4 separate regions of the Homo sapiens genome follow, and all the other regions are linked to region 3. The links are contacts of gene promoters, found by promoter capture Hi-C in blood cells and fetal thymus (Javierre and others, 2016). All regions are on one chromosome and are shown on one strand. Each heading gives the region's core, a stretch centred on a gene start or on the middle of the fragment in contact. The rest is flanking DNA. Distances are from core to core; before and after follow the strand shown.

The links. Contacts are between HindIII fragments. The CHiCAGO score rates a contact against its expected background, and 5 or more counts as called.
Region 1: a contact is called between a fragment that was not itself captured here and the fragment with the promoter of AIG1 in region 3, in 1 of 17 cell types (neutrophils). The highest score is 5.3, in neutrophils.
Region 2: a contact is called between a fragment that was not itself captured here and the fragment with the promoter of AIG1 in region 3, in 1 of 17 cell types (naive B cells). The highest score is 5.9, in naive B cells.
Region 4: a fragment that was not itself captured here is called in contact with the fragment with the promoter of AIG1 in region 3 in 1 of 17 cell types (total B cells); the score reaches 5.8 in total B cells.

What each region holds. Positions count from the first base shown.
Region 1 is chr6:142,799,076-142,801,775 of GRCh38, forward strand. The region is part of intron 2 of HIVEP2 (HIVEP zinc finger 2); the gene reads right to left. Among named protein-coding and RNA genes, the nearest start is that of HIVEP2, 140 kb to the right of the region's middle. The HindIII fragment of the contact is 4,351 bases long and covers 1-2,700 here.
Region 2 is chr6:142,739,821-142,742,520 of GRCh38, forward strand. No RefSeq gene overlaps it. Among named protein-coding and RNA genes, the nearest start is that of HIVEP2, 200 kb to the right of the region's middle. The HindIII fragment of the contact is 7,865 bases long and covers 1-2,700 here.
Region 3 is chr6:143,059,542-143,062,241 of GRCh38, forward strand. It overlaps AIG1 (androgen induced 1), which reads left to right and starts at 1,348. Exons shown (of 6, transcript NM_016108.4): 1 at 1,348-1,525. The coding sequence starts at 1,385. RefSeq lists enhancers at 344-1,282, 1,108-1,237, 1,838-1,887 and silencers at 1,238-1,327, 1,578-1,647. The HindIII fragment of the contact is 5,617 bases long and covers 1-2,700 here.
Region 4 is chr6:142,760,166-142,762,865 of GRCh38, forward strand. It overlaps HIVEP2 (HIVEP zinc finger 2), which reads right to left. Exons shown (of 10, transcript NM_006734.4): 8 at 1,299-1,400; 9 at 1-502. Among named protein-coding and RNA genes, the nearest start is that of HIVEP2, 180 kb to the right of the region's middle. RefSeq lists an enhancer at 1,680-1,729. The HindIII fragment of the contact is 9,901 bases long and covers 1-2,700 here.

The sequences.
Region 1 (2,700 bases), core at 187-2,686, 260 kb before region 3:
GCAAGCACATGTGAAATATGTGTTTATATCTGTAGATTTTGTCTTAGCACAGGTGAAATACTGAAAACATGAAATATTACTTAAAGCATGAAATGCTGAAAAGGCAAACTGTTCTTAATGTATTTCATAAACAAAACATTACTACATAGAATATAAATGCCAAAATTCCTGCTTTGGAGTTTGTTCTTGTATTATGTCATAATGACTAGCCATTAAATGTAACTCATTTTTTTGGCTTGTCAGTGGGAAACAACATTCTCGTCCTAAGTGCAGCCCGGGAGGAGACAGCGCTATCTATGGTAACACCTAGGCATCCTTAAAAGACAGATAGGAATATGAATCTTGTCCATTTCAGGGACAGCCATTTCTTGCTGAGGGGCTAAACCACTAAGAAAAGAGGAGACAGAGCATCAGGCATTATCTCTTCTTGGAAGAAATGAATATTCATATTACTATTCATTGTCACTAGTCACTATTGAAGTGACTAAAAATTAGTAAATTTCTGGTCATCAGTGGACAGCTGCAACATCAACAAATTATTTGAAAAATCAACACCTGCTGAAAGCATGTTTTCCCCAAAACCTTATTGAAGTCCCAAACATCAGAGTTGTCAACTAACTTCTATAATGCTATCTGAAACTGCAATTAAAGTTCAAGGTGGTAGAATAGCAAACTAGTGACATCAAACAGCAGGGGAGCCTCTGGGCTAAGATGCAGTTAGTCCACAAACATAGTCCCTTTGCAGTCTAGCAGGGAATGATACATCAGCACCAGGTCCATGACAGGAACCCAGCATCGCTGATTAGTTTGAAATTTTCCTTGCTCATTTGTGCATGAAAAGCCATATATCACTTAATGCCAATGACCAAGAGTCTTCTCAAACCAGGGTCAAATTGCTAAAGGCTATTTTTTTCCTAGCATATTGAAAAACCTCATTTTTTCCCAAGAACTTTCCCAGAAATTAGACTAAGCAGCAAATATTTTCCCTTTACTTCAGATTTATTGTCTGGGCTACCACACACCCAGGTGGCAGCAAAAAACACTGAAAATGTCTGCATTTGGCTGGTGTGGAATAAATGGTCTTAATAGCTCACAAATATCTGAGGAATTAAACCTAGGAAGACAGCATCACCACATTGAGCTGCTGAAGTGCATGTCTACTACTTCAATTTTTAGATGACAATATTCAATTAACAACCATGGTATCATATTAGTCATTATTAACACTTACTAAGCACCTCTGCCTCTAGTATGCAAAGTGCAGAATTCAAGTTTAATATGGTGGGACTCTAACTGTCAGATGGCATCTTCACTGGATTTATGCTTCTCTATGAAACAATGGGTTCCTTTCCAAGCTAATCATCTTAAGTTTCTAAGTATTTGGCCTTCATTTTTATATATGCCTAATATGCTCAGAAACAAGAAATGCATGACTAATCACAAGTAAATTTATAAAAGAATACATTTTCTGCTTAGAGTGATAAGTATCTTTTTGATGAGAATGATTTAGTTTTATTGAGAGAGATTAAAATTTAAAACCAGCAACTAAAATCTTAGAAATGCTTCCCTTTAATATTCTCAGGGATGATAAACAGAAAATAAAAAAAGGAGAATTTGAGAGGCTTAGGAGGAGGAATCCCTCAAAATGCATAGAAGATATTTAGATCTATGAAAATAATTCAAAGAACTGGCTCTATTATATAAAACTGGAAAGATCCTTCTGTTCTGATGTTGAGTGTCTCTCCCTAGGCTAATCCAAACGGCTCAGAAAGGTCATGTGCTATAACAGACAATAGCTTTAGAAGATCATAATTTTATCTTTTGTTGCTTTTTGATGTTAATGAGTAAATAATGGCATTTCTTGACAAAGACTAGTTACATAGTGATAACTGGCAGAAACCTCTACATTTTGACCAGAGTGAATACTGTAGGAGTCACCTCACTATATAGTGTGGGGAACATAATGGACTGAGCCTGCACAAGGAAAAGAGGCCAGGGTAGCCCATGTGATGGCTCGGCTTGCCCTGTCTATTCAGTTCTGATGTTCTCTGCAGGTCAGAAGAGAGGACCTTTCCCAGGGACTCACCAGGTATGAGGTCAAGCAGTGGCCAGTGTCAAAAAAAAAAAAAAAAAAAACGAGGGAATACACACAATACCTTCAGTTAAGAGGTACTATGATAGCATGAAAAGAACACTAGATTAAGGCAAATGTCAGCAGACTATAAAATACATTCTCACCAGAAGAATTGCTTGAACCCAGGAGGCGGAGGTTGCAGTGAGCTGAGATGAGATTGTGCCACTGCAGTCCAGCCTGGGAGACAGAGTGAGACTCTGTCTCAAAAAAAAAAAAAAAAAAAAATTCTCACTTGAGAAAGTTAGATAACATTCTCACTTGCAAAAGCTAAATAAGGCCAACGATCACTGAGATAGTGATTGCCAGTAATTACAAGAATCTAAGCGAATTCTCTTTTACTCCAGATCTAGTATTTCCACATCACCTCTCAGTTAGCAGACCAATTCAGCTCTCCTGATTATGTACCCTTGTATAAGTCACTTCCACTTAGTGGGACTTGGTTTCCCATCTATAAAATGGACACAATAATTCCTGCCCTGCTATCTTCCTGGGTTACTGTAAGAACTAAGTGAATCTCCATATGTGAAAACAATATGAAAATGAAAATCACTAGATCATTGTAAGAT
Region 2 (2,700 bases), core at 133-2,632, 320 kb before region 3:
ATGTTTTGCATCTTATAAATAACCCCAGTGCCATTTCTTCCAACTCCAACTCTACCTGCCACCTTATCAGGTGTATCACCAAATGTAGAGACCAGTTGATATGGTTTGGCTGTGTCTCCCCCAAATCTCATCTTGAATTGTAGTGCCCATACTTCCCATGTGTCATGGGAGAGACCCAGTGATTGAATTGAATCATGGGGGCAGGTCATTTTTGTGCTATTCTTGTGATAGTGAATACTTTTGATGAGATCTGATGGTTCCCCTACACACACTCTCTTGCCTGCCGCCATATAAAACGTGACTTTGCTCCTCATTCGCCATCCACCATGATTGTGAGGCTCCCCCCAGCCATGCAGAACTGTAAGTCAATTAAACCTCTTTTCTTTATAAATTACTCAGTCTCAGGTATGTCTTTATTAGCAACATGAGAACAGACTAATACACCTGTAAATCTGGAAGCATGCAGCATTCGGAAGGAAGGAGGTAGAATGAAGAGAAGTGTAAGGCCTGGCTCTGGAGTCATCCCATACTTTCCAAGATCTCCATTCTTTAAATATTGATGACACCTTATTTAGAGTAACTAAGGAAACAGCAAAGGATTTGTTCTTGGAATTTTACAGAAACTGAAAGGGGGAGCTAGTACGGATTTTCTGGAGCACGTCCAAGTTCAAAATGTTGGATGGCATATAGTGTACCTAAAAAATGGGCAGGTCTTTCTCTCATAAATTTGGAATGAAAGAAAGTGGCATTCCAAAATACCATTCCTGCTCATTCTTGCCATCTTCCCCGACCCAGCAGCATTTGTTTTTATTGGTGTTTATAGTTACTGGTTGGCCTCAAAATAGATATTTTAATTCGGAGCTCTCACTCATGGTTAAAGAATGTGAAAAGAAGGTTTCTATGGTAATGTTTTCATTTTTAGATTAAGGTGCAGATGATTAATCTCTCCTATCCATCTCATGAAATAGAAGATGATTGATTAATGTGGAAACAGATGGTTAGGAGAGAAAACAGTAAGTATTCATTCTGGAATTTTCCTTACATATTTTGGCTTTTGTCTTTATTATTTTGTTCAGGAATTTAGGACAGAGAGGTTATTTTTATTTACCACATTCATTTATCCTGGACCCAAAGTTATAAAGAGAAACAAATGATATGTATCTCTCTAATTTATCCTATATGCGAATATACCATTATTAGCTGTTGTGGTTTGGAGATACCATCCTAAATTCTAGAAAAGTGATGCATAGGAAAAGTAGTCTTACATAATGCAATCAGAACTAATTGCAGATTAATTTTAAAATGACAATGGATCATACAAGTTGATACATAATACATTAAATATTTTAACTTAAAAAATTCTGAAATGTACATGCATCTTTGTCATCCTTTGGTGGAGAGTGGTGTACCATCTTCCGTTTCAGCTTTGGGCTGTGATTGGAGATCCAGTCAGGTAACATAAATACAATCTAACTATAATACATTGCCAAAATGATAATTTCACCTTGTTTAAAGTGGAATGAGTATTGGAAGACATTCAGTAACAAATTGGAGGCAGAGTCATTTTTAATTTTTAGTTTTTCTAATTGCCCACACATAATTCAATTGCCACTTTCTTAATGACCTTTCCTTATTCTTTCCAAAGCATTTAACTTAACAGCCATAGATAAAAGCACTCTTTTTTGCACTCATATTTTATAGATTCATGTGGAATTTAAATCAAGTAATTATAATAATCCACAAAACTTGCATACATTGGTATGGGATTGAATTCAACTGCACACAATTCAACTGGCAACAGGAAAAGTGCACAGTTGTATAGAGAGCAGTCTGGAGTGTTCAGCTTGGTTTATGAAGGGAATGAAGAAATGCAGTTACTCCTATGAATCTATTTGGTATAGGTCAATTTGAAAATCCTTAAATGTGTATGTCAAGTAATTTTTGCATGTTTGTGCATTTTTCAGATCCTCTATGTCACTACAATTAAATAAACGTGGTCATGGTGAGACTACATGGGCTACGGTAGCGTAGTAGAAATAGGAGTGATCCTGGTGTCTGAGTGACTTTGATTTGAATGCAATCATCTTAGTATTAGCAGCAACACAGTAGTAACAAAAGCAGTTTTGACATCATTATTTTTAAATTGACTTAAATAGTAATAGTCTTAACACATTATAGATATATTTATGTGTCAGCAACTATATTCAAAATGTGCTTATAGAAACTGTCAAATGCTTTGAAATAGTTTCTTAGACATAATACTCAAAATGTTTGATTCTATGATATTGAGGACAAGTTTTCTAGGATTAATAAATAATTCTGCCTAATGAATTTCGATTCATCTTTATTAACTTCTAGCTTCAAATAGATCAGCAGTTCTCAACCAGGGCAGTATCAATCACACACAAACACACCCCAGGGCATTTTGGAAATTCATGGAGGCTTTTGATTGGTGCTATGATGACAGGGTGCTGCCGGCATTTAGTGATTAAGATTCTCCAACACTGGAGTTCCACCAATGAGCAGAACCATTTTGTAAACTTGAATGTTACTCTAAATGGGACACGAAAGTGAAATACTCATTTGGATTTATGTGAGCCTAGAATCAAGCTCTGTTTCATTATAAAGCAAATCTGAAGTGGGGGTATAGATTTTCAAGTCATCTCTGCTACCAGAAGACAAGTGTGCTCCCAAAAATCA
Region 3 (2,700 bases), core at 98-2,597:
TAATACATCGTTTTAATGCTAGTAGAATCTTCTTCTGACATCAGTTCTATTAGCATAATTATAATGCCAATTAAAAAAATCTAGTGGGTCTCTTCATTTTAGTTTAGAGCTTGATTGGAAACATTCAGGAAAACATCCATGGCTTGCTTGCTACTTTCTCTTTACCTCTAGCACTATGCTTCTCCCCACCAGCCCTCCCTCCACATCCTCTGACTCAGAGACTATTTGAAGAGGACACCTGTTTTAAATGGATCCACAGGAAATACCTATGTTGCCTTTTCATAATCCGAACCTGCAACTGGTTGGCTGAAATGAAAATGTTGCCCACAGACTGATGCAACTTCAGTGTGACAACATTTACTGGAAGGCAGGAGGGACTCCAGTTTATATTTATTTTCCTTCCATTAAGCCCTGGTAGTGTAGTGTAAGAAAAAAGTAAGGGCAAAACCAGTTTAACAACCAGATGATTAGTATTAAATTACACGCAGGGGTTTTACATCCAAAATTGGAATTTTTTAAAGCTGAATGCAATCTTGTGGCAGAAAGTTATTTGAAAATCCTTTCTTTATAGCTTTTTATCTATAAACCTCTTGTCCAAAGTTCATATTCTAGCTGATGTTATATACTGATATGACATTATTCAATCTGTCATGGAAAAGTGCTGCGTAGCCTACCCATTGAAAGCAGAATTGAGAGAGTTTCCTAGTGATTGACAGTCGTTTGTCAACACTGAAAACCTTATTGCCCCAAAATACTGAAAGTCACTCGCGGCTGCCTGTGCTCGGGTTTACACCCCACGTTCACACCCCCACCGGATCCCTCCGCACGGGGCACCAGCTCTCGGCCAACTGCAACTACCCCAGGAAGCGTCACCGCGATTCCGGGGCGGGAACATTTGTGGACACTGGGGTCCACTCCTTCAGTCTAGGTTCCCCGCCCCCTCGCCCGGCCCGGCGCCCACTAGCCACAGGGCCCGCTTCCCCCTGGAGATCAGCGCGCACTTCCCGAGCCCTCGTAGCACTCAGAGGTCGCATCCACACCTGGGATGCCTAGGGGGCGCCTCCTGGCCGGGTGTCCCGGGACCCTGCGAACGCAGGAGCAGAATGACGAAGGTGACGAAAGAGATGACGACACGCCGCCTGCCAGGCCGCGGCCGGCAGTGGAGAGCGTCCGCAAACCGCGCCCGGCCAGTACAGGTCACCCGGGCGCTCGCGGCCGCGCCAGTCCCCGGGGGCGCGCGCCCCGCCCCCGCCCCCGCCCCCGCCCCGCCCCGCCCCGCGCCCGCGCCCGCGCCCGGGTTCCCACGGCGCCCGCCCCCGCGCGCCCGGCGCCTCCCTCACGCCCGCCCTCCTTGCCGCCCAGCCGGTCCAGGCCTCTGGCGAACATGGCGCTTGTCCCCTGCCAGGTGCTGCGGATGGCAATCCTGCTGTCTTACTGCTCTATCCTGTGTAACTACAAGGCCATCGAAATGCCCTCACACCAGACCTACGGAGGGAGCTGGAAATTCCTGACGTTCATTGATCTGGTAAGGCCGTCCCCTCCCCCTGCTCGCCCCGCACCCCGTGCCTGTGTGTGCGTGTGTGTGTGTGTGTGTGTGTGTGTGTGTGGATGCGCGAGCACCTGCGCACGTGCGCGCCTCCAGCATCCACCCGTGTCCTCGCCTCTTCCCCAGTGATTGCGTGTGAAGGCCTGGCTGCCCCCGCAGCGGCACCTTCTGAACCACTCACCGTTACCTGGTAGCTGGGTACCCTTACCTGGCAACTGGGGGACAAATGGAGGTGGGGCGCAGCCAGGTGGTGGGCTCTTTGGAGGGGGACACCGAACTGCTTCTAAGAGGTGACACGGGAAGAATCTTCAACAAAAGCATCGGACCTGATCCTGAATGGCCTGAGACCCATTCGCCCTCAAGGTGCTTTTCAGAGCACCCACCGTGGGATGAACTTGTTGCAACTGAAGGAAACTGGGTATTGTCTAGTGATTTGGAACTTCACCTGAAAGAACCAAATCCTTCTCATAAGGGAGAGAAAGCACCTAATAAAGTTGTCTTCTTTGCATCTGTTTTTTTCCCCCATTGTCAATAATTTACTTTCAACCTTTACCCCGTACATATTAGGAGACAGAGATGTTCAAAGTGCATTTCCAAGGTGACTGTACACACTTCTCTGTCTTCCCATGTACAAATTTACAGTAGTTTGCATAAGCAGCTCCTCTGTTGGCACAATATGATAATCTTGACAGGTGCAGGTTATTATTAGTATATCATTTTGAAAGTTTTTCTATTTCTGGCACTAAAAGGCCCTCTTCAACCTCCCTGGAGAACAGAACATGGGCATAAGGCCCAATAATGAACTCATGGATGGACCTAGGAATTTCAGGGTAAAGGTGACTAAGACACACGCTAAAAGATTATTAGGAAGAGGCTTAAAACAAAAGCAATGAAGTTCTAAAGCACTCAGAGAAATTGTAGAACCAATTCCTGGGACTCCCTGAACTGTTTATCCAAGACTATACAGTTGGTTGGCTACACCAGCAAGATTATAATCTCTTGTTGACCCTCCATTCTGATGAAGAGAACATGATACCTGTTTTAAAAATTTCCAAAGGCTTAGGATGCCTCAAAGAAATGCAGAGAGGCTTTTGGTTTAAAAATAACACCTTATATTTGCATTATATTAGATACTTTCAGAGTGGAATTTCAAT
Region 4 (2,700 bases), core at 187-2,686, 300 kb before region 3:
GGTGAGAAGTCCCTGGGAGAGGAGCTTGGCTCTGAAGGTAGCATGCACTCCTCATCCATACAACTAGGTATGTCCAATCTGTCTTTGTCTGGTTCTGAGTCCGTACTTTTGCTCTGGAATAGCCTCTGGTATTCTGTCATCTGGGTATCTTCACATGAATCACTGGGTGTCATAAGCTGAGTAACTCGAATACTTGGCAAAGTAACCAAATAGCTGATCAACGAAGAATGTCCCAGGGAACTATCTGAAGGAACCCCGTGGGGTACGGCGCCAACATTCACAGGCAAGGAGGAGAATCTAGGAGGCTGAGGACTGGTGCTTCTTGATCTTGTTTTTGGTGTTAAATCTCCCTGGTCGTCAAAGTCATCTTCATCTTCATCATCATCATCATTATCATCTCCATCCTCACCATCTGATTCCTCAGCATCGGAGAACTGATGATCAGTTGAAATGCTGGACATGCTATGCTTCTCTGCTGCTTTGTGCAAATCTTCCAAATTTTCTGAAACAATTAAACAAAGATAATGGAGATCAAGATCCAAATATCAAGGTTAGGATCTTATTTAAGCCTCATTTCTTTCTAAACGCTTTTCCCAATCCCTAGTGCCCACAGATAGTTATGTCTGAGAACTCCTATAAAATGAGGCACTTACCTGTGTGACCCTGCGTTCATTCTATCTTCTTGTATATCTATTTGTTTTCATCCCCAACTTACAAGAAAGATTCCATAGTAGGACTTTATATCTCAGACATCATCCCACTCACAGAAAACCCTCAACAAATGAGCATGGATAATGTTAATTATGATGCTAGAGGAGAAAGAAAGGCAACAACCTGTCTCTGCAAGCTCAGGTACAAACGTATGTCTAAGTGATGTAACTCAGGAGGTCTGGCCAACCTTAATGATGTTTGTTTGCTAGTTTATTTGTTTTCCTACTGGGTTTCTTCTTAACTTGAATAATAATACATTAAAATGCTTTTCAAATTCCCCAAAAAGCCTCATAAAATCTAATTTGCTATCACAAAGCAAGTGCAATTCTATTCCCTTCATAGAAGGCTCTAAATATAAGTATTTTCAAAGTAAGGCCTTTTTTGCCCTCGGAGTCAAAACTGAAATGCATTTCTTCTCAGTAGATTTCAAGCAATTCAATGTGTCAGTTTTATTTTCTATATTTAGTATTTAATAAAATGAAAAGTGATCACTTTTTAAAAATATCTAAACTTATTTTACTACCTCAGCCACAGAGCTCCACTGTGCATAATGAAGAGGTCTGTCAACTCATTTATGACATACACACCTGCTTCCTCAGTTTCTGTATCATCCACCGATGTCATTGAGACTCCCAATTCCAGGCATTTTTTCATGTGTGCTTTAGATTTCATATGCTTCGTTAGGTTTCCTTGAAAATGTAGCAAAAAAAAGAGAGAAATTAATTGGTTATCAAATTAATAACTGCTGATAGCTGCTCCAAATTCAATGTGAAATGAACTAATTTTATTAAATTCATCATGTAACACAGATTTGTTTCTACCCACTACCCCTTGTTTCAACCTTAAGAAGAATAATCTGGTCTTTGAAGATATCAATCCCTGAGAGCTTTGGCCCAATCTCAGATATTCTTTATTCTAGAAGATATGTGGAAGTCCAGGCTCACATCTTTTCAAGAGTAGGCTCAAAGCAAGACTAGAAATCCCAGGCTTTTCTGCCTGAGAAGGGACCTCATATCTACCCAAATACACCAGCCTCCTGGGACTCCACAGAAACAGGAAACGCAATCTGGCCACACACCTCAGAGATACTTCAGAATGAAATATTCTCAACACACCCACTGGGCCCCTGACCTTCTGTGACTGATCAGGTACAGAGTAACCTCCAAGGATCTTCACCATTCAGAAGAAAAATACATACAAACTAATGTGAGGGCCAACCTTGTCAGTGCTCTGAAAGATCCATACAAATAATTAGCTAACTACTCATAGGGAGCATTATTCCCAGTATTTAGCATCTATCTGTCTGGCATATGTTAGCAAAAGTTATGACAGCAATTCCTAAAATTCTGGAGCAGCAACATTCCCTCTTTACTTATCTTCAGGCTCCTATCACACTAACAAAAAAGAAAGGTTTCATGCTGAATATGTTATAATGATAATGGCATATACAATTATATGTGTATATACATGTGTGGATATAAATTATATATATAATTTGTATAACTGCTTTATGAAATGTGAGAAATTTTGAAAACATTGTTCCAATCCTCGTTGACCCAGGATCTACAGAAGAATGCACACACACACACACACACACACACACACACACACACACACATACATATAAATTATATGCCATATAACTTATCAAAAGAGATTCAGGAACTAATTCAGTTGTAAGGCGCCTTTACATCACTTCAGTGAAAATAGCCATAATGTTATCTGTGCCCTTGACAACGCTTTAGCAATGTACCAACAAATACTTTAAGAGAAGGCTCTGTGAAATCTCCGTGGAAACTCAGCCTGCTAGCACAGTTTATTCCTCTGGTAGGGGTGTTCAGCTTGCTGTTCATGTAATATATGAGCCACAGTTAAAACTGGGACACTGTTGTTTATTATTTTACTCATATTGCTTTATTATTTACTTATTGCTTATATACTTATAAATTTTACATGCTGTTTTGAATAATTCCAAACAGAAATATTTCC